4 separate regions of the Homo sapiens genome follow, and all the other regions are linked to region 4. The links are contacts of gene promoters, found by promoter capture Hi-C in blood cells and fetal thymus (Javierre and others, 2016). All regions are on one chromosome and are shown on one strand. The core of a region is centred on a gene start or on the middle of the fragment in contact, and the rest is flanking DNA. Distances in the headings are between cores, read along the strand shown.

What was found. Contacts are between HindIII fragments. The CHiCAGO score rates a contact against its expected background, and 5 or more counts as called.
Region 1: a contact is called between a fragment that was not itself captured here and the fragment with the promoter of SPATS1 in region 4, in 1 of 17 cell types (non-activated CD4 T cells). The highest score is 6.0, in non-activated CD4 T cells.
Region 2: a fragment that was not itself captured here is called in contact with the fragment with the promoter of SPATS1 in region 4 in 1 of 17 cell types (naive B cells); the score reaches 7.3 in naive B cells.
Region 3: a contact is called between a fragment that was not itself captured here and the fragment with the promoter of SPATS1 in region 4, in 2 of 17 cell types (fetal thymus and neutrophils). The highest score is 5.3, in fetal thymus.

What each region holds. Positions count from the first base shown.
Region 1 is chr6:43,728,209-43,733,696 of GRCh38, reverse strand. No RefSeq gene overlaps it. Among named protein-coding and RNA genes, the nearest start is that of VEGFA, 39 kb to the left of the region's middle. RefSeq lists a silencer at 1-85. The HindIII fragment of the contact is 5,532 bases long and covers 1,030-5,488 here.
Region 2 is chr6:43,772,816-43,778,455 of GRCh38, reverse strand. VEGFA (vascular endothelial growth factor A) reads right to left here. Exons shown (of 8, transcript NM_003376.6): 2 at 4,064-4,115; 3 at 791-987. Among named protein-coding and RNA genes, the nearest start is that of VEGFA, 5.4 kb to the right of the region's middle. RefSeq lists enhancers at 3,410-3,704, 4,757-5,522, 5,523-5,640. The HindIII fragment of the contact is 190 bases long and covers 1,156-1,345 here.
Region 3 is chr6:43,754,019-43,759,562 of GRCh38, reverse strand. No RefSeq gene overlaps it. Among named protein-coding and RNA genes, the nearest start is that of VEGFA, 13 kb to the left of the region's middle. RefSeq lists enhancers at 959-1,018, 634-1,170. The HindIII fragment of the contact is 9,019 bases long and covers 1-5,544 here.
Region 4 is chr6:44,340,596-44,346,156 of GRCh38, reverse strand. SPATS1 (spermatogenesis associated serine rich 1) reads right to left here and starts at 3,507. Exons shown (of 9, transcript NM_001372081.1): 1 at 3,389-3,507; 2 at 2,923-3,061. The coding sequence starts at 3,061. The HindIII fragment of the contact is 2,984 bases long and covers 827-3,810 here.

The sequences.
Region 1 (5,488 bases), core at 2,546-5,045, 610 kb after region 4:
ACCTGTCTAGCCATTTGCCTTTTGCCAGGCCCATATAATAATAGCAAACATTGGTTGAATGTAGCAGGCATCCTTCTAAGTAAGAAGTTTAGTGCATGACCTTGCTGACTCCTCACCACAGCCCTACGAGGTAGGTGCCATCATCTCCCCTATTTTATGGATGAGGATATAGCAGCCCAGAGTGGTTAAGGAACTTAACCTTAGGGAGAGTGGAAATGTGAACCCAGACTACACTGCCTGGAGGGGGTTATCATGGGATAGGGGGACAGAGCCAACTTGTAACCAACCTGTAAACAAATAATGACCTTACAAGCAGGAAGAGTTTCAAAAAGAGATGTATGAGGTACAATGAGTCCCTGGAGGAGGGGCACAGTGGACAGGTGTTGAAGGGGAAAAGGAGAACCAGGAGAGTCTTCTAGGACAATAAACATTTAAATTGGATTTGGGAGGTTATGGGGTGTTTCCTAGTTTAGGTTGTTTTATTTTCTTTTTCACTTTTTTTATTATGGTAAAATATGTATAACATAAATAGTCACCATTTTAACTATTTTAAGTGTACAATTTAGTGGCAGTTTTTAATTTTGATGAAGTCCAATTTATCTATATTTTTCCTTTGTTGCCTGTGTTTTTGGTGTCATACTAAAGAAACCATTGCCAAATCCAAGGCCTTGAAGATTTTCCCCTGTTTGGTTTCATTTGTAGAGATGAGGTCCCACTATACTGCCCAGGCTAGTCTCAAACTCTGGGCTCAAGCAGTCCTCCCACCTCAGCCTCCCAAAATGCTGGGGTGACAGGCATGAACCACCACACCTGGCTCACTTTTTTTTTAAGAGTTTTACAGTTTTAGCTCTTAAATTTTGGTATTTTATCCATATCATCTGCAAACAGAGATCATTTTATTTCTTTCTTTCCAATCTGGGTGCCTTTTATTTCTTGCCTAATTGCTCTGGCTAGAACTTCCATTACTGTGTTGAATAGAAGTGACAAAAGCAGCCATTCTTATCTTGTCCTGATTGTAGGGGGAAAGCTTTCAATCTTTTGCCATTGAATATGATGTTAGCTGTGGGTTTTTCATATACAACTTTTTCATGTTAAGGAAGTTCTATTCCTAGTTTATTAAGTGTTTTTAATCAAGAAATTTTTGTATTTTCTCAAATGCTTTTTCTGCATCAACTGAAACAATTGTGTATGGCTCTTTTTTCCTTCATTCTATTAATGTAGTACATTATATTGACTGATTTTTGTATGTTAAACCATCCTTACATTATGGGGATAAATCCCACTTGGTCATGGTGTGTAATCCTTTTAATATGCTGCTAAATTTGGTTTGCCAGTTTTTTGTTGAGGATGTTTGCATCTCTATGCTTAAGGTATGTTGGCCTATAGTTTTCTTGTAGTGTCTTTGGCTTGGTATCAGGGTAACGTTGGCATCACAGAATGAGTTGGAAAGGTTCTCTCCTCTTCAATGTTTTGGAAGAGTTTGAGAAGGATTGGTGTCAATTTTTCTTTACATGTTAGGTAGAATTCACCAGTGAAGATATCTAGTCCTGGACTCTTATTTGTTGGGAGGTTTTTGATTGCTGATTCAATCTCTTCACTTGTTATATCTCTATTCAAGTTTTCTATTTCCTTTTAAGTTGGTTTTGATAGTTTGTGTTTCCAGGAATTTGTCCATTTCATCTAAGTCATCTAATTGGTTGGTGTGTAATTGTTCATAGTATTATCTTATAATCCTTTCTATGTCTATAAGATCAGTAGTAATGTCTCCACTTTCATGTCTGATTTTAGTAGCTTGAGTCTTCTCTCTTTTTCTTAGTCAATCTAGCTAAAGGTTTGTCAATTTTGTTGACCTTTTCAAAGAACCAATGTTTAGCTTTGTTTATTTTTTTCTATTGTTTTTCTATTATCTATTTTGTTTATCTCTATTCTAATTTTTATTATTTCCTTCCTTCTGCTAGTTTTAGGGTTAGTTTGCTTTTCTTTTTCTAGTTCCCTAAGGTGTACAGTTAAGTTCTTGATTTGAGATTTTTCTTCTTTTTAATGTAGGCATTAACAGCCATAAACTTCTCTCTGAGTACTACTTTTGATATACTCCATTAGTTTGGGTGTGTTGTGTTTTCGTTTCATTTTTCTCAAAGTGTTTTCTCATTTTCCTTGTGATTTCTTCTTGGACCCACTAGTTGTTTAAGAGTGTGTTGTTTAAATTCTACATAGTTCTAAAATTATTGTCTTCCTTCTGTTGTTGATTTCTAGTTGTATCCCTCTGTAATTGAACATATATTATTTCAATCTTTTTAAACTTAATAAGATTTGTCTTGTGACCTAACATGTGGTCCATCCTGGAGAAGGTTCCACGCATACTTGAGAAGAATGCTTATTCTGCTGTTGTTGATTGAAGTGTTCTATATATTTCTGTTAGATATAACTGACTCATGACATTGTTCAGTTGTCTATTTCTTTATTGATTTTCTGTCTGATTGTTCTATCCATTATTGAAAGTGAGGTGTTGAAGTCTCCAAGTATTATTTTAGAACTGTCTATTTCTCCCTTTAATTATGTCCATTTTTGCTTCATATAGTTTGGGTTTAGGTATGTATATGTTTTTAGGTATGTATATGTTTATAATTGTTATATCTGCTAGGTGAACTTTTTTGACTTAATATCTATTTTGTGTAGCAATAATATAGCTATCCCAGCTCTTTTTTGATTACTATTTATTTGCATTGGATATCTTTTTCCATCCTTTTACTTTCAATCACTTTATGCTCTTATATCTAAAATGAGTCTCTTGTAGACAGTATATCATTTTTTATTCAGTCTGCCAATCTCTGCCTTTTAATAAGAGAATTTTACTCATTTATATTTAATGTAATTACTGATAAAGAATGATTTACTTCTCCCATTTAGTTATTTGTTTTTCTGTATGCTTGTGTGTTTTTGTTCCCCAATTCCTCCATTACTACCTTTTATGTATTTAGTTGATTTTTTTCTAGTGTACCATTTTGATTCACTTCTGTTTCCTTTTTTGCATATTTTTTAGTCATTGTCTTAGTTACCTTGTGATTACAATTAACATCTTAACCTTATAACAACTTAGTTTTAATAATACCAACTTAGTTTCAATAGTATACAAATGTTCTGCTCCTTTTTTACAATTTTTTATTACTTATTTATTTATTTATTTGACATGAAGTCTCGCTCTGTCACCCAGGCTGGAGTGCAGTGGCACAATCTCAGCTCAATGCAACCTCTGCCTTCCAAGTTCAAGCAATTCTCCTGCCTCAGCCTCCCTAGTAGCTGGGATTACAGGCACTCACCACTATGCTCAAATTTTTGTATTTTTAGTAGAGATGGGGTTTCACCATGTTGGCCAGGCTGGTCTCAAACTCCTGACCTCAAGTGATCCACCCACCTTGGCCTCCCAAAGTGCTGGGATTACAGGCGTAAGCCACCATACCTAGCCTCCTTATTTATTTTTTTTAAAGATAGGGTCTCACTCTGTCACCCAGGCTGGAGTGGTGGCACAATCACAGCTCACTGAGGCCTCAACCTCCTAGGCTCAAGAGATTCTCCCGCCTCAGCCTCCCAAGTACTTAAGACTACAGGCATGCACCACCATGCCTGGCTAATTTTAAATTTGTTGTTGTTGTTGTTGTTGTTGTTGAATGGGGTCTCACTATGTTATCCAGGCTGGTCTCAAACTCCTGGCCTCAACTGATCCTCATGCCTCAGCCTCCAAAGTGCTGAGATTACAGGCATGAGCTACCATGCCCGGCCTCTGCTCCTTTGCCTATCCATTCTTCCCCCTTTATATTATTATTGTTACAGATTACATCTTTATACCTTGTGTGCGCATTAACGTAGATTTATAATTATTGTTTTACACATTTGCCTTTTAAATCAGTTAACGACCTTATAATTGGCAAAGATTTCAAAGAAAGAGGTACAAGGTACGATGAGTCCTCGGAGGTGGGGCACTGTGGGTGGGGACTGGGAGGGAAGTAGGAAACCAGGAGAGCCTTCCAGGAGAATAAACATTTGAATTGGAATTCAGTTTTGAAGAACAAAAAATTATTATGTAAAACTAATTATTCACAGGAAAAGATACCCAAAATATTTTACTCAGGACAAAAAGTAGGTTACCATATAGGGTGAATTATCTCATGTTTGCAAATATGTATGTATTTATACATATTTAAAGATATATGTGTATAAATGCATAGAAAAACATTCATGATTTTAACCACCGTATTTTAGCGGTGGTTATCTCCAGTTGTTGAAACTATGGGAAGAAGAAACATTTCCTTTTTTTTCTAGTTTTTTCTACAGTGTTTGAATTATATACAATGAGCGCTCTTCACTCTTATAACTGGGAAAAACAATAATGCCATTTTTGTTCTGAAGGGTAAAATGAATACGTGGACATTTACTACGGAGACAAAGTTGGAAAGAACCTGCTAGGCAGAGGGAACAGCACAGGTAAGAGCAAAGAGGAATGAAAATAATACCCTATTACAGGAATTGCCAACCATGTGGCATGGCTGGAGGGCATTGGGGGTGACTGAAAAAGAGTTGTTTCCACGGGCCACATTACCAATGCCTTTCATCTCATAAAAAGAGTTTAGAGTTGGTTCTTGGCACAAGGGCAGGAGAGTAACAAGTTTTGATTTACATATTCAGCAAATTAGTTAATAGGGGTGGAGAGAAGCCCAGAGTCTGGGAGGCCGATGATTGAGGAAGGAGAAGCTGGGGCTGGAGGTGAGTCAAGGCTTAGAAGGTAGAAAAGAAGAATGGAAATAAGAGATAAGTGGAAGCCAAATTAGATAATAATTATCCCTGAGTGGGAAGTAAGTTTGTCTGTCTTACCAGGATTTCCAGGGTTGCAGCCCAGCCTGGCATATTAATGGCAGGAGGCCAGGTCTAGAGATGATCATGATGAAGATGATGGTGATTCATGATGAGGAGGAGGAAATTTCCATTAAAAGATCCCGGTAGCCCTTTATAGCTTACAAAGTCCTCTGACTTCCATGTCCCAGAACATCAAAATGTTATGTTCCTATTCTGCAAATGAAGGTCTGAGGCCTGGAGAGGTGATAGAACCAGAGCAAGACCCAAGCACAAAGGACCTTCCCCTAGGTACACAGGTGGGCAGCCGCTGCTGTCCCCAGCAAGCCCGAGTGATGACTGTGTGTTCACTGGCTAGCTATGTGATCGTGGACGGACATTGCCCGTCTCTGTGCCTCAGTTTCCTCTTTTATAAAATGAGAAAAATACTTCATGTGGTTGCTGAAAGGATGATATGACTGAAAACAAGTAAAGAGCTTGGAGCAGAACCTGGCACATAGTATGTGCTCAATATATATGAGCTCTTATTGTTTGTTTGTTCATTTGTTTGTTTGTTTTGAAACAAGGTCTCACTCCATCACCCAGGCTGGAGTGCAGTGGCATGATCATGGCTTACTGTAGCCTCAACCTCCCCAGGCTCAGC
Region 2 (5,640 bases), core at 1-2,500, 570 kb after region 4:
AAAGGAAGGAAGCAGATCACAGAGGTTAGTGACCCAGCCAGCCATACCCAGATGGGACAACCCTGGGGCTCCTGCCACTCAGCACCCAGGGGTTCTGCAGAGCAGGGATGGGTGGTGGAGGCAGGGAGGACCAAGAGCTCTAGCAGGAAAGAGGCTCAGGCCCACCCCAACTCCCCCAACCCTGCTGGCCTCAAGGAGCCCTTGTTCCACTTGAGGCCAAGACATGGCTGCAAGGGTTGGCCAGGCTGGGAATTCAAATCCTAGGTTCTTACCACTCCCCATCCCCTCCCCTTCTTTCATCCTCTCTAGGCTTCACCCTGACTCCTAGTAGATACCCGAAAGCAACCCCCTCCCTGTGTTTCACAGCTCCCTCCCACCCTATCTGGGCTGAGATGTGCCCCATTACCAGGTAACACCAAAAGACTTTTTAAACTCTCCATGGACCAGGCTCATCCAGCTTCCCAAACAAAGCCCCCAAGAAGGGGGGGCACTCAGGACTCTCTCCAAGAGAGGGAGAGAGGGGCTCCTGACACAGGCATCCATCTGTCCCCTCCTGAGCCCATGGGCAACCATCAGGGAGAAGGAGATGGTTGGGGCTTGCTGGGAACCTGGGCTGGGAATGAAGCATCTTCTCCACAGAAGGCAAGACCCCACCATACCTCCCCTGTGCAACTCAGGGGCAGGAGCCAGACAAGGCAAATCTAGCCAGGAAACGACCTGGGACCACCTGTTCCCAAAGTGTTACCCCCCTCCCTATCCCCCCCTTGCCCCACTTCCCAAAGATGCCCACCTGCATGGTGATGTTGGACTCCTCAGTGGGCACACACTCCAGGCCCTCGTCATTGCAGCAGCCCCCGCATCGCATCAGGGGCACACAGGATGGCTTGAAGATGTACTCGATCTCATCAGGGTACTCCTGGAAGATGTCCACCAGGGTCTCGATTGGATGGCAGTAGCTGCGCTGATAGACATCCATGAACTTCACCACTGCATGAGAGGCGATGACACATGAGCCCGGTGGGCGACACAAAAGATGGCTAGCCCCTCTCTCCACCCAGCTCTGTAATGCCACTCTTTGGAGCTTCCGAATCAGGCAAGTCCTTCCAAAATCTAACGTAAGTCCCTCCTACTGTGTTTGAAGCACTTCCCTAAGCTTTCCACCATCAACACTGGTGAAGGCCTGTTTTCATTCCAGAGATCACACGATGTACTCAAGTTCCAAGGGACATGGCCTGCCACATCTGATCCCGCCACCTCACTGTGACAGCTGAACTGAATCCTGGGCCAACCTCGATGCCAGAGGACAGTCTGAGTATGGGTATACCCCATGGGGATGCTCTAAGCTTTCCCTAAAAGGAGGAAGAGCCAGCTTTGCCAAGCTAGTCTCCAGTTTCCTACGTCCTCCCCACAACCACTACCATAACGTCAACCATACCAACAGCTGTTTATTGAGCACTTACTACATCCTGAGTACTGTGTACAGTAGTCCACAGCTATCATTTCACACAAGTTTCTCCACATGGTACTATTAGACACTATTGAGATTCCATTTTACAGATGGGGAACAGGAGGCTCAAAGAGGCTAAGTAAGTTGCCCCAAGGCCGCACAGCTAGTAAGTAAAGGAGTCAGAATTAGCTGACATCAAAGTGTTCCCAAGCCTATATTAGGCAAAAACAGAGGAGGCACCTTTCAGGAGGAGGCACCTTTCCCCCTGCCAGTCCTCTTCCCCAGACATGAGCTGAGAAGGTGGTGGGCATCAGCACAGGGGCTGGGCCCTCCTGGAACCCACAGGTGGCAGTGGGCGGACACGCTGTGCCAGCCCTGCCAGCCACTGATAACCCCGCCCAAGAGGGCAAACTGCTTGCATCATGGAAAAAACAGTGCTGCCACTGTAGCCACGAAACATTTCTAGAAGCTGATCTGAAGGGAGACCAGGGTAGAGACAGTTTCCCAGGCTGGCCACGAAGCCTGGGGTGCACTGGAGCATGAAGGGGTAATTCTGGGCCACAGAGGCGGGGCCCTTGAGAATAAATAAATGCAGGACTCTGGCATGACTACTCCAAATTGTGGCCCAGCCTGCCACGCCTATCGCACCCCACCACCACTACCACATAGCAATCCTGTCCCTGAAATAGGTTCCCTACCCAGAGGGAAGAAATAACACCTGGCCAGTGAGGAGGCCCAGGCTCTGGCCATGAGTTGGTATGACCTTGGGCCAGTCCCTCCCCTCTCTAGGCCTCCAACTCTGCTCAACTGTGTAAGTGGGTTGGGCTGATCTCTAAAGATGCTGAAACAGGCTGAAAAAGGTGGTGTTTTGGCTTCCATTTCCAGCCCTAGGAACAAGTGCTCTTTTTTCAGCCTGGGTAATATGAAGTTTAGAACTTCACCAAAGCATCTTAAGTGTATGCTTCGTGGACTTCCACCCCAGCTCCCAACCCCCACCCCCCAGAGACCACAGCTGAGCCTCCCCCTCACTCCTCCCTCCAAGGTCTGCTTTCCAGAAGAATAAAGGACAATGAGGGGGGCTATGTACACAATAGGTTGATTGGGAAGAAGGTGGGGAGAAGGCCACAGGTGTGAAAACAGAAAGAACAGTGGGGAAACAGGCCAGTCCACTGCTTCCTGTGAGGTCTCTATTTCTTTTATCCAGACCACCAATGGGCACAGAATCCTTCTCTACCCACGAAGGGTTACGGCAAAGCATCATCAAAAAGAGTGAACGAGACTAGAAGTCTGAAAAGGTCATTTTTTAAAGCCAAGTCGATAGGGGAGAAGATGACTAATCAAGAAGTTTTGAACTGCCCCTTCATCACAATTGGGACAGAGGAGGGCCAGGCTTGTGGCCCAGGAGGGGATAGCAGGAAGGTCTGGCCTGGGCAAGGGGTTGGTAACTGAGGGTAAAAAGACCTGGGGTAGGAATTCCCCCAAAAAGCTTCCCCTTGGAATGAATCCCCAAGTCCCATGGGAGGTGGAGGCGGGGAACCTCACCCGCATCCTTCATCAGGCAGCCGCCCCTCCAAGGAGGGCTGGCCTCCACTGCCTGGGGGAGCACACACGTACACTCCAACAACCAGGCTTTCGTGGTTTTCCTTATTTATCGCAGACAACCTTTTCTCCAGCAAACAAAGACCTTTGTCCTGCCTCTCCCAGACCAGAGACCACTGGGAAGCTGGAAGGGGTAAGTGGCGCACTGGAAGCAGGGGGCCGGTCAGTGGCTGAGAAGCCAGGTCCTAGGCCAAGGAAAGGGCTCCTGGGGTGGGGAAGGAGGAGGCAGAACAGGCTGGGCATCACCACTGCTGGCCACTACCCAGCCACGCCAGATTTAGGTCAGGGAAACTCGCGGGAAGGAAGACCCCAGGGCCTTCCCTCCCCAGAGGTGGAGAGCACAGGCCACAGTCAGTGGTGGGGAGAGCCAGGGTGTCCCCAGAGAAATGGGAGGATCCAAACCACAACGGAACAAAAGGCAGGCGGACTCGGGGTTGGGCAGGGGGGCGGGGCGCCTGGGAGCTACAGCCAGCCCTCTGCTGGCCTGGGAGGGAAGTTCACAGCACCCGAACATAGTCAAATGGGGTTTTCTCCACCCCCAAAGGAATGCAAACCAGGGAAGGGAGGAGAGATCCCATTAGGCTGAGCCCTCTGTGCCTCCAGCTCACACAGGAAGGGTCACAGTTCCCACAAATGGGACATGTCTATATAGGAAATGACACTAAATGTCCACTCTCCCCTGGGAGCTAGGGGAAACAAGGGACACTTCCCCCAACACCTAGGATCCCTGAACACTGTCTTCCTGCTCTGTGCGCACGACTCCTTCTCCAAATAAAATTTTACTGGAAAGAGCAGAAGAAAAAGGCAACAAGTCCTACTTCTAGCAGAGACCTGAACAGCGGAGAGTCCTCACGAAACTGAGGGTGAACCTCGTGGTGCCCAGCTCTTTCTTTCTTGATCCTTATATTCCTGTGCCCCTTCCCCTTCCTCCCCACAGTTCTGAAGAAAAAGGAATTAGGCCATCCACCCATCCCCTGAGAGGACAGGGAACCCCATCCAACAGCCAGGGGGACTCACCTTCGTGATGATTCTGCCCTCCTCCTTCTGCCATGGGTGCAGCCTGGGACCACTGAGGACAGAAAGAGAGCAAGGCATGGGCATGGGCAGGGGCTGGGGTGCACAGGCCCAGCCACCCAGCCCCTCCTCCCTCCTCACTTCCCTCCCACCAACAGCCTCTGGCTTCTCCAAGTCTTCTGAGTCGAACAGGACACAACCGGGGGTCCCCACGGGCACAGAATATGCCCACCACTCCTGGACTGCTATGGTTATGAACCCGAGGAAGTTAAAGACTAACCAGATGTTGGGGGCTGGGGAGCTCGAAATGCAGGAGGAAAACCCCAGAATGCTTCACTGTCGAGGTCCCCTGTACCTTCCCCACACTTCCCTCTCCCTGCTCTCACTATCCCCCTAGTTCCCTGGTCCAAAGCCATGGTAAGTATTAAGGTCAAATAGGAGGACAAATTTGGACTGGGGCAGGAAGGAAGGACTAGGGGCGAGAAAAACAACATGGTGACCTTCTCCTGCTGACATGACAAATACCAGGGTGAGCTGGTGTTGGAGACGGAGGGGGGTGCCGAGGACCGAAGGGCACCAACCACCCTCCCCCATCCAAGCTCTTCTAGTCCTTAGGAATAACCCAGCATGCCCACAGGTTGCTTAGAGGGTAAAAACCCAGGAGGAGACCCTGGGGGAGAACCACATTTTCCTCTCTACACAAATCTCTCCAGAGCCTCAATAGATTTCCAAAGCCTCACCTGTCTCCCACTCCTACCTGTTCCCTGGTTTCTTCTCCCTCCCAGGGTGAGGAGGTGCCAAGCCCCTCTCACCTGGGCACCTTCAAATGCCACCAGGGACCAGGGAAGGCTTTTATGCCTTGGCACTGCCCAGCCCCTAGGGGGCCCCCTGCACCACCTTAGGCCTGAGGCCTCCTCTAACCCTCCCCACCCGCATCAGATCATTCCTCCCCTCGCCAGAAGCTGTGAAGGTCAACACGCCAAGACATGCGGACCTGACAGCACCCAAAAGGAAAGGCTTCTGCCAGCCCTTCCTGGGGGTCTCCAGCTCTCACCAACTCCCCTCCCGCCCAGCACTCGCAGAGCAGAGGGGCACTCTAGCCTACGGAACACCAGACCCTGCTAGGGGAGAGTCCCACTGTCCATCTTTCTTTCCCTCTCCTTCCCACACACCCCAAATGCACCCCACTCAGGTACCCCAGCCCTGCTCCCAGAGACAGCCAAGGTCACAGGAAGCCCCTCTCAAGAGAAAACAACAGTTACCAGGCTTCCAGCTGGACAGCTTACCACTGCGGCTCCTGCAGGGACCCCCTGGATTCTGCACCTCAGCCCCCTCACCCATTCCCATGACACCCCCTGCCTTCCCCCTGACAATATTCTCCCGGGACCCTCCACTCCTCCTGGGCCCCAAGGAGGAAAGGGGACGGAAATTTCATACCCCTTCCAAGGCCAGGGAGCACAGGAGGGGCGGTTCTAGGCAGGCAGGGGCCAGGTGTCCTTCTCTGGGGGCCTCTGAAGGTCACACTGTGGCCAGGCAGCCACTCCTCCCCCTCCTCCCTACTTGGAGGCCTGTAGCCAAGG
Region 3 (5,544 bases), core at 39-2,538, 580 kb after region 4:
TGTGACTCATTCCACAGTTACTCCTCCTTCTCTTCCAAACCCAGGAATCTGGGAGATAAGGAAAAGGATGAGCAAGAGAATGGGTCCCCTTTCCCCATACTTTAGTCAAAAATAATGGACCATTTGAGGCAAGGCCAGTTACTTCGATGGGGGCCAGGTGAGCAGGTGTGTTGTTATGCAAATGAGCTTATGCATATGTATTATGAGGAAGGGTGGGTCTGCCCTGCTTACTCCCCTCTGGAGGCCCACACCCCAGCACCGAGTCTCCCCGCCCAGAAAGGTTTGTTAAGTGATTCCACAGCCTCTGTCCACTCTGGCCTCTCCCCCAGGCTGTCTCCACACCACCATCCTCACCTTTTTCTATGTGTCCTTCCCTACCAGGAGTTGAAGATTTCTTCCACCGTCTCCCAGGTTCTGCCTACATCAACCCCGATCACAGCCACCTTGGGACACAGCTCCTCACACTTCCTCCCCTCCTGTCCTAAAGGTCCTCAGGGATGTCTGGCTCTCTAGAACGGGGCCACAGTCCCCCAGGGCTGGCAGGGGCAGCCTCCAGGCTCCTCGAAGCTGCCCAAGAGGGAGGTAGGAGTTGGAGAGGGGCTGTCCCACTGGCCTGGCTGGGTGCGGGTTAGGGAGCCCCTTCTCTGGCCCACAGGAGGGAAGACCCGCAACACCCAGACAGAGGTGGGCGGCCTTGAACCCCCTTCTGCCTGAGACGACAGAACAACCTTGCTGGGCACCTTCCATCAGTGGGCTTCAGATGTAGCTGTTGCCCAACCGTGGCCACACTCCAGACATTCTCTGGAAGCCCAGGGCCCCCTCCTCAGTCAGGACCCCTCCCAGGTACCTCACCTAGTGCCACCCCGAGCCTCTAGAGGGCGAGGGAGAGCAGTGCTGGACTTCCCAGCCTCTGGGGCATGCCCAGGAGGCTTTCTGCACAGGCCCCTGGTCCCTGAGGAGGGGGCACCACGCCGGAGGCTGTCTATCCAGACTCACCCTCTAGGAGCAGAGAAGTATGAGGTATGAGCCAGGGCTGGGACGGGGACTGCTTGGAGGATTCAGGGACAGAAAGGTAGGCTGGACTGTGGAGGACCCTGAAGAAGGGTAGGTTTGAGTGGTGGAAATATTATCTGAGTAATATTCAGATAATATGCTGAAATACACTGTTCATTTGAGTACAGAAAGGAGAGCAATGGCTTCAGCCTCAGGAATCTCTGCCTGACCTTGGAAGAGAAAGAGACTTCTTGGCTCACATTGCAAAGCACCACTACCCTCGCCCCATCCAGGGTCAGAACTAGGGAGAGGCAAGCGAGGCAGCTAGGCGAGGACCAAATGTAAGGAGTAAGGAGCTGCTCACTCTTATAAGGGTCGTGCAGGTGCAGCGCAGGCCCTAAGAGTGAGTACCTCCTTAAACACTGCACCAGGCCCCGCCCTCTTGGGAGCCTGCCTGGGGACTAAAGCTGCAGGGACATTTAAGACAGAGTTGGGGTGAGGAGTAGGGTCACTTTTTCACACTGGACCCCTCAAAGGAAAGAACTAGCACCTAACTCAACTAAAGGAGAGTGGGGCCACAGATGAGGTGAAACAGACAACTGTCTTGGCCGCGCCTGGGCTCTGTGTGTGTGTGCCTGTCTGTGACAGTGTCTGTGCGTGTAATTTGTTCATTCAGATTGTGGATCTCCCCACTTCTAGCTATCTGTCCCTGGGCAAGTCATGCAACCTCTCTAAACCTGAGTTTCCTTGAAAACCCATGCTAATAATACCTATACAGGGTTCTTGTGAGGATTGAATGAGATAATATATGGAAAGGGTGTAGCAAGAGCACCTGGCCTGTGCATAGCAGGAACCAAACAAATGGTAGTTTCTATTCCCATTATTATTCATAATATGATTGTGTGTGGCCCCTTCTTTCCCCTGCCCCCTTACACATCCATCCCACTCCAGCCAGCCAGGTCTTCTGACAGCCCCAAGCACAGGTTGCTCATTTCTTCATCCTGGTCTATACAGTGCCAGCCGTGAAGATTTGCCTCTTAAAACATGAAGCCTTCTTAGACCACTTCTGCTCAGCAGTCTCCCCTAAACTCCTACAGCATGAGCTGTCTATACCTCTTCATCCAGCCTCAAATGCTGTCTGATGTATTTAATTTTGTAAAGGGGTGTGTGTGTGTGTGTGTGTGTGTGTGTGTGTTATCTTTCTCCAAGTGCATTCACAGAGAGAGTGTATTTTTCAGTGATCTCTTACCCCATACAAGCCTAAGGACTAATACAGGCCTGCAGGTATAGACATCCACATGTAGACTTCTTTTCTTTTTTTTTGTTTTTGTTTTTATTTTTGTTTTTTGAGACAGGGTCTTGCCCTGTTTACCAGGCTGGAGCGCAGTGGCATGATCTCAGCTTACTGCAGCTTCGACCTCCTGGGCACCTCAGCTGCCTGGGTAGCTGGGACCACAGGCATGTGCCTCTATGCCTGGCGAATTTTTGTGATTTTGTTTGTTTGTTTTGCAGAGACAAGGTTTAGCCATTTTGCCCAGGTTGGTCTCCAACCCCGGGGCTCAAGCAATCTGCCTGTGTTGGCCTCCCAAAGTGCCGGGATTACAGGTGTGAGCCACCATGCCCAGTTTACTTGTAAACTCTTTATGAATGAAAATAATAATGGTGACCGGGCGCAGGGGTTCACGCCTGTAGTCCCAGCACTTTGGGAGGCCGAGGCAGGTGGATCACCTGAGGTCAGGAGTTTGCCAGCCTGGCCAACATGGTGAAACCCTGTCTCTAATTAAAAAATACAAAAATTAGCCAGGTGTAGTGGCAGGTGCCTGTAGTCCCAGCTACTCGAGAGGCTGAGGCAGAAGAATCACTTGAAGCTGGGAGACGGAGGTTGCAGTGAGCCAAAATCGTGCCACTGCACTCCAGCCTGGGCAACGGGGTGACAATTGGTCTCAAAAAAAAAAAAGAAAATAATAAAGGTAAATACTGTCTGGGATCATATCCCTACTGTGTGCCTTATGTTATCTCATTAATCCCAACAATAGCCCTGTGAAGTAGATTACAATTATAAAACAAAGGCCAGGAGAGTTTAGGTAACTTGCTCACAGTCATACAGCAAATAAGCAATAGCGCTGGGATTTAAACTCAACTCTCTCTGGCTCCAAAACCAGCACTCTTAACCACTATGGCTTGAATACAAGAATGAACAATCAACAAACCAAAATTTCCTTTCTGTACTCAAAGAAAGAAAGAACCAAAAAGCAAGCAGATATCAGAACTTCAGTCAAATGCTTTCAAGGTTTCAAATCAGAATCTGTTGGGGTTCAAGTTCAGAATGTTCTGCTGTTCATATTGAGACCAGAGCCCCCACCTGGTCATTACACCCAGATGGTCTCAGAGGCACCCAGAGGGTCCTGCCTTACTCAATAGGGTTTTAGACCATTTTTTCAACAAATGGGGTTGAAAAAATATTCATCCCAGAGTGAGTCAGAAAAATCACTTACTTTGTTCAATTCCCAGAATGTTCCTGTCGACCCTAGCTCTATTTTAACTTCTGTAGGAGAAACTTTTATTTGCTCTCCATTTGTTTATTAACAATTTGGCAACTTTTTGATAACTAAATGGACAACATTGGCCAGTCAGCCATATTACATGGAGTAACTACCAGAAAACCACTCACTGACTCATTTTCACACATACTCCCATCAATCCCCAACTGTTACAATAAAATGTTGTCAAGGGGAAATGTATCCCCTTCAGGCCTCCGTTCTCCTTTGCCATCTTCCTTTTGCTGCTGTGGCATTAAACTGCCTTGGAATCTCTACATTACATTCCCCTCTCTGTGACTCAGTGTCCTTACCTGGGAAATGAGGATCATAAGACCACCAACTCTACAGGGCCGTGGCAAGGATCCAACCAGGCAATGTGTAGAAAACACAGCGACTGGCATGGAGGGAGAGCAGAGGAAATATTTGGGGCTTTAGGTGCTGTCATTTCAAGCCTGGTAAAGATGCCCAGAGGCCTGACCCTCTCTAGCTGTGGGAAAACTGCTTCTCCCAGCACGCTTTCCTACCTGTCTCCTAGGATCCATGTCCCTGAAAATCAGCCCTCACTCACTACTCTCTCGTCCCTCCAGTCACACCCCAGCCCCTCAAGACTTAGAATCATCAAACTCCATGACTAAGAAGGCAGTGAGAGCTCATCTGGCTCAACTTTATTTTTTCTGAAAGGAAAGGCAAAACTCTGCAATGTAAATGGTTTGCCTCTAATCACATATCATTTGCTTCTAATTCACCTGCAAAATCCTATACATTCAAAAAGTGGACCCTACACACCTAGGCCAACAAAACCAAATTTGCTCATAGCATTTTTGGACTTTACTTCCCCTTATGAATTGATCTTAGACTTCATTATACACCAAACAAGGAAATCAATTTCTTAATTTGGTGCCACACCTTGTTTTGGACCAAAAAAAAAAAGGTGCTGCTATTACCTACTCAGTTTGCTCAGTCTCCTGGGTCACACACCTGGGCACTAAACAACTTTTGGTTATTTCCACTTACATTTAGTTCCCAAGGATTAAGTTTTTTGTTTGTTTGTTTTTTGTTTTTTTGTTTTTTTTTTAGAAGGAGTCTCACTCTTTTGCCCAGGCTGGAGTGCAATGGCGCAATCTCGGCTCACTGCAACCTCTGCCTCCCGGGTTCAAGCGATTCTCCTGTCTCAGCCTCCCAAGTAGCTGGGATTACAGGTGTCCACCACGTTGGCCAGGCTGGTTTCAAACTCCTGACCTCAAGTGATCTGCCTGCTTCGGCCTCCCAAAGTGCTAGGATTACAGGTGTGAGCCACCACACCTGGCCAGGATGAAGTCTTGACATCATTGTGGAATATTTTTAACATGATAAAGGCTACGAAAGCAGCTTATTTGTTTGTTTATCCATAAATTTAGTAAATATCTATTGATACTTCCTTATATACCAGGCCCTGTGCTAGGGGATGGAAATGGCACAGTAAACCAGACTGACTCAATTTCAGAGCATACCTGATCTGTTCTTTCAGTATGATTACATGGAATTGATAATAATAATAATAGCTGGGCACAATGGTGCACACCTGTAGCCCCAGCTACTCCGAAGGCTAAGGCAGGAGTCCAAGGCTGTAGTGCATGAAGACTGTGCCTATGTATAGCCCCTGCTCACCAGCCAGGGTGACATAATGAGACCCCCAGCTCTAAAAAATAAAAAATTTAAATTAAAAAAGCATCTAAAAATAAATTAAAAGACTTCCAGGAAAAATTGGCAGCCTGAACTCTTACATCTAATTTTCTTGTTCCTGAATCTCCACTTTAGCAAAGTTAGCAAAGACACTAACACTGGGGGCAAAATGAAACATCCCAGCCAGGTCACCCTAGTGTGAGGCTCACAGAACCACACCCACATACACAGACTCACATATGCACACACATCTACACACATACATACATATACTCACATACACAATCACATATACACACACCTACACACACATGCACACACACATACACACATACGCACACACACCTAC
Region 4 (5,561 bases), core at 2,258-4,757:
AGCATGTCCAGCTATTTTTTTGTTGTTGTTGTATTTTTTGTAGAGATGGGGTCTCACCATGTTGCCCAGGCTGCTCTCAAACTCCTGAGCTCAAGTGATCCACCCACCTCAAAAGTGCTGGGATTACAGGCATGAGACACTGTACGTGGCCCCATCCAAATAATTGAAGAACCGAATTTAAAATGAGATGCCATTATTTGTTATCCGTTTGCAAACACCCAGGTGTTTGGCACAGCTTGGAGGAATGGCATTCCTATCATTGCTGGTGGGAATGTCCCCATCTTACTGAAGAGCAATTTGGCCATATGTGACTTCCGAAGCCTATGAGAAGTGCATGTCATTTGACTCAATAGTTCTACATCTAGAAATGTATCTATGAAAAAGCCATGAAATGCATGTTTGGAGATGTAGAATGGATTCACATATGTGAATGAAATGAAATCAAGGCCAAAGATGTCCTCTATGTCAATAATTGCATGTGAGTTCTGAGGTATTTACAGTAAGATTTACTTATGGTAATTTTTGGCCATAGGTTTTAACAGTGGCTGCCTTTCATAGCATGTAAACATTTTAGTTGTATATTGCCACTATAGGACTTGAGAGTTCACCCAAGCAAGAATTGGTTGGCTCTATGGATGGTATCAGAGAGGGTCCTTTCCCAAGCTTTTTGTTTGTGTTAGGAACAAAATGTAAATGTACTGCATTTCCCTAAGCAGCGAGCAGTGAAACACACCTAAAACTTTAGCACACTTCCTTGCTTGCTTGAAAAGTTTTGTGGCAGCAGCACTCTAGAAAGTGGCCTGTGGCCACTATAATGGGGAAAGCTTGTCTGATGGACAAGGATGGGAAGAGCAATCTCTTGCTAAACTGGCAAACAGCACACTCTCTAGATCAAGCTGACTACGGCATCTTCCTGAGAGTAACTCAACCTCAAACTTGAGCTGGAGACACTTAAACATGTTCTCAAGATGCCTCCCCGCCCCTCCCCTGGTAAAAGAAGATTAGCTGGAAGAGAAGCTGGAATTGCAAGCCTGAACACTTACTAATACTGACGCTAATACTAATACTGATGCTCCCACTGCATAGAGTACCATCCAGCTACTCTGAGCAAGTCAATTACTTCTCCACGCCCAGCTCCCAGTGGCTGCCCTCTCCCCCATCTAGCTCAGAAGGCTGTGGGGAGACAAACACACTAAGGAGATACACCCTGCTTGAAAGTTTCACCATTTATCATGAAAATTGTTATTCAAGCGCAATAAATGTCAAGTAAGCCAGAAGTCAGAAAATTCTAACAAGTTTCTAAAACACTGCAAAATTAAGAAGAAATGATGTAATTAAAGGCCAAGAGAAGGTTCTGGTAACCAGAAAGGAATTCAAGGGAAAAAAGAGAATTTGGAAGAAAGTCTGTTTCTTTATTGCCATCTGTGGAATTCAGGATAATTATTTCCATTTTTTTAGGCAGGAATAACACCTTACATAACCAAAGCACTTTCATATGTTTGTCATCTCAGCTGATTGTCATAATAGCTCTGTCTGGCAGGGAGAAAAATAATACATCAAGCCATGTTTGTTTAACATGGATACTCATTTAACCAAACACTATTTCCCACCCCTGCTTATCTGCTTCACAAGGGGCCTAAGGATCAAGGACAGAAGTTTTTAACCCGTTTTTTGATTCTATCCTCTCCCCCATGAGCAGTAATGAAAGCAATCGGTTCTCTGATGGAAAAATGCACACACACACACACACACACACACACACACACGTATCTTCAATTGGTTTGTGGAGCCCCTTCCTTGCTGAAATCCATAGACTCCATGTTAAGCTAAACTCAGATGTATTCTCCTGAATAGACTCACCTACACAGCAGGAAAGGACACCATGGGTCTTTCATTAATGTGGTCTGGGACCTGGTACCCTTCTGCTACCCCTAACTCGAAAACATGGATCCTCCCTAGGACATCCTTAAAACAGCAGCTTCTTCCTTTACCCCAAACTGGAAACTGCAGGAAGGTCTGGAGCTTAAAGTTAGAATCCCAGAACCCTTTTCTCCTTGCTGTTGCAGACACACTTGGACAATTAATAGCTCTAACTCCTCCAGCTCCTCCTTCTCTACGGTCCTAGCTTATATTAATAGCTGGGTGGAATGAGTTGTACCTCCCTCCTTTCTCCCCACTGTGAAGGAGAATGAGGAGATCACACACCCAGAATACAGAAGACCAGGGAGAAAGCTAAGATCTGATCCCGCAAAGTCTGGATATTTCACAACCCCTTTTTGCAGCACTCAGGCCACTCACCCATAACAGGTAAATGAGAACTTGAGCGCAGGCGCACTCTGAGCTTTTCTGGGAGACTGTGGCTGTTCAGCGCCATGACACTGTTCTCCAAAGGCAAACGTGCCCCCAAATACCCTCCTCGGCCTTAACCAATTATGGAGCTACCAGCCATTATTTAATTTTTAGAGTGTTCATAATTCTCACCTGAACTGTCCCATCCAATAAACAATGACACAAACCTACTAATATCTGAGCAAAGGAAAGATGAAAGGACACAGGCTCGAAAGTATGGCAGACTCATGTCAAATCCCAGGCTCATGTCAAATCCCAGGCTCACCTTTTATTAACCCAAGCACTGGGCAGGTCAAATCTCTGGCTCCCTTTACTCATAGGTAATATACTTCTCCACTGCTGTGAGATCCAGTGAGGTAATTTATGAGACTCTCTGCTTTGGTGGTGCTCTCTGCCTAATCAAATCTTGGGTTAGCACAAACATAAGCTACTATTCAAGCAGCTCTTTTTACATGCCCCCAAACTAGCTTCCTTCTAAACTTCAAATGGTGCCCCCCACCTGCCCCCGCCCCCGGGTGTAGTATACTTGGATGTGGCCACCAACTCCACAGCCTGGATTTCTTAGAACTCAACTGTAGGTCCTCTCCACCTCGGTCATGCCAGAGTCCCTTTTTTCTGGAACCTTCTCCAGCTGTCTGCCGCAGGTCGTGCTTGAGATGGAGGGGAGACGGCAGCCCCGTGGACTGTTTCCAGTGAGCATGGATGGACTCATCTGTGCCCATGATGATTTTAAATATTAGAAGCAACCCAGAGACAAAGAAAGTCCCTCGTAAGAAAGGTATCAGTCAAAACAAACAAATTCCACAAGCCACCGAAAGTCAGGAGGGCAGGACTGGCCTCTAAACGGGAGCCTTACTCCCTCCACCTGGGCGTTTCGTGGTTTGGAAGCCCTGGGAGCCCCAGCGAGTCCGCCCCCAGCCCGAACCAGGCTCGCTGCAGCCCCCATCCAGCTCAAGGTGCTCCTTCTTTTCCACCTCGGGGTCTTCCCACCCCCTTCCCCAGGGGAGGCCCGGGTCTGTGCTCAGAGGCCTCCACGGACCAACGAACCAACTGGCAACTGAACTGCCGAACGCACGCCGCACGCCGAGGCCTGAGAACCGAGAGCCTAGGGCAAAAGGGACACCGCAGCCGCCTGCTTCTCCCACAGAGGCGCGTTCCGGGGTTGCCGGGACACCGGCTCCAGTAACGCGGCGCGCAGCGTCCTGCCTGGCTCGGCTGCCGGCCCCCCTGTCTGTCACCCCCCGGCTCTCTGGCCATTGGTACAGGATGGAGGCTCCTGAGAGGTACGGAGCAAGGAGCTCCAGCCATGGCCCGGCGTCACAGGCAAGGACCGCTGCAAAAGCCACTTTGTGATTTTGGACTTTTTTTTTTTTTTTAAGAGTTGTGGTTCTTTTCCAGGCAATTTTCATTATTAGAACTGTAGGCTCTGGTAGCAGTGAAAGATGCGCCCTCCACAAAGCTTGCAGATGCCTGGTTATAATTGGCGTTGATTAGACAGGATCCACCTACCACTTACAGAGCGCCTTTTCTGGGCCAGGCGCCCTGGTGGATATTATCTTCCTTAAACAGCCAGCTGCGTTTTTCAAAATAGAAAACCAAATTTTAGCAAAGGCTTGCGCAAGGTCACCCAGAAAACAGATTCATTTCTAAGTTTCCTCATTCCAAATCCACCACTCTTTCCATCATATTGACTTAAATTTGTCTTCCTCATCCTTTCCAGTATCTAATAAATCTTGCATAGAAAGCTTTTCTCCAAGTCTAGTTTAAGTCCCTAAATTCGTGTTTAGACCAAGTTTTCCCTTCTTTTGTTACTGATTATAAGAGAAATAAATGGTCATTATAGAAATATTGGAAAATATGGAAAAGTATTATTAATATCCATGATCTCACCATACAGAAGTTAAATACTTTTTTCCTGGATAGCTATTGCTATATAACAAATCACCCTCAAACTCTGTTGTTTTAAACAACAACATTCATTTTTAATTTCTGATCCTGGTCGTTGGCTAGGCTAAGCTAGGCTGTTCATGCTTGGGGTCTCTCACAGGGTCTCAGTCAGAGGTCACAGAGGAGCTTCCTCACTCATGTGTCTGGTGATTGATGCTGGTTGTCAGTTGAGGTCAGCAGGGTTAGCGCCAGTTCACCCATGTGTGGCGTTTCCATGTGCTTTCTCACACCAGTGTCTGAGTTTCCAACGTGAGCATCCCAGGAGGACCAGGCAGAAGTTGTATTGCCTCCATAGTCACAAATGCATGGAGAGGGAACTTAGATCACACCTCTCCATCATGGTCATACTGTATGAAGAGCACAGGGGACAGGGGATCTTGTGGCCCTCCTAGAAAATACAATCTCCCCTACTGATATTTAGGGGTTATTCCTTGTCCTTTTTCTATGCACATGTATGTCATATACCCCTAGTGATTTACACCCCTGCTGATATTTAGGGGCTCCTTCCTCTCTACCCTTTTTCTGTGCACAAATATGTTAACATATTATAGATAGATAGATAGATAGATAGATAGATAGATAGATAGATAGATATAGATATAGATATCTCTTGTATTGGGCTTTTAAAATTTAAGATTATAGTTGATGGCTGGGGCTGTGGCTCACGCCCATAATCCCATAATCCCAGCACTTTGGGAGGCCGAGGTGGGTGGATCACTTGAGATCAGGAGTTCAAGACCAGCCTGGCCGTCATGATGAAACCCGTCTCTACTAAAAATACAAAAAAAAAAAAATTAGCCAGGCGTGGTGGCAGGCACCTGTAATCCCAGTTATTTGGGGTGCTGAAGGAGAACTGCTTGAACCCGGGGGGCAGAGGTTGCAGTGAACTGAGATCATGCCACTGCACTCCATCCTGGACAAGAGAGTGAGACTCCATCTCAAAAAAAAAAAAAAAAAGTTGGCCCTCCATATCTGAGGGTTTTGGATCCACAGATATGACCAACTACAGATTAAAAATATTCAAAAAATATATAAAAATTTAAAATAATACAGATAAAAACAGCAAAGTATAGCAACAATTTACATAGCATTTACATTGCTTTAGGTATTATAAATAATCTAGGGATGATTTGAAGTACCGTACAGGAGGATTTGCATAAGTTATATGCAAATACTATGCCATTTTGTAAAAGGGACTTGAACATCCTTGATATGCTCAAGATTTTGGTGTGGGAGGGGAGTCCTAGAACAAATCCCCCAGGGAT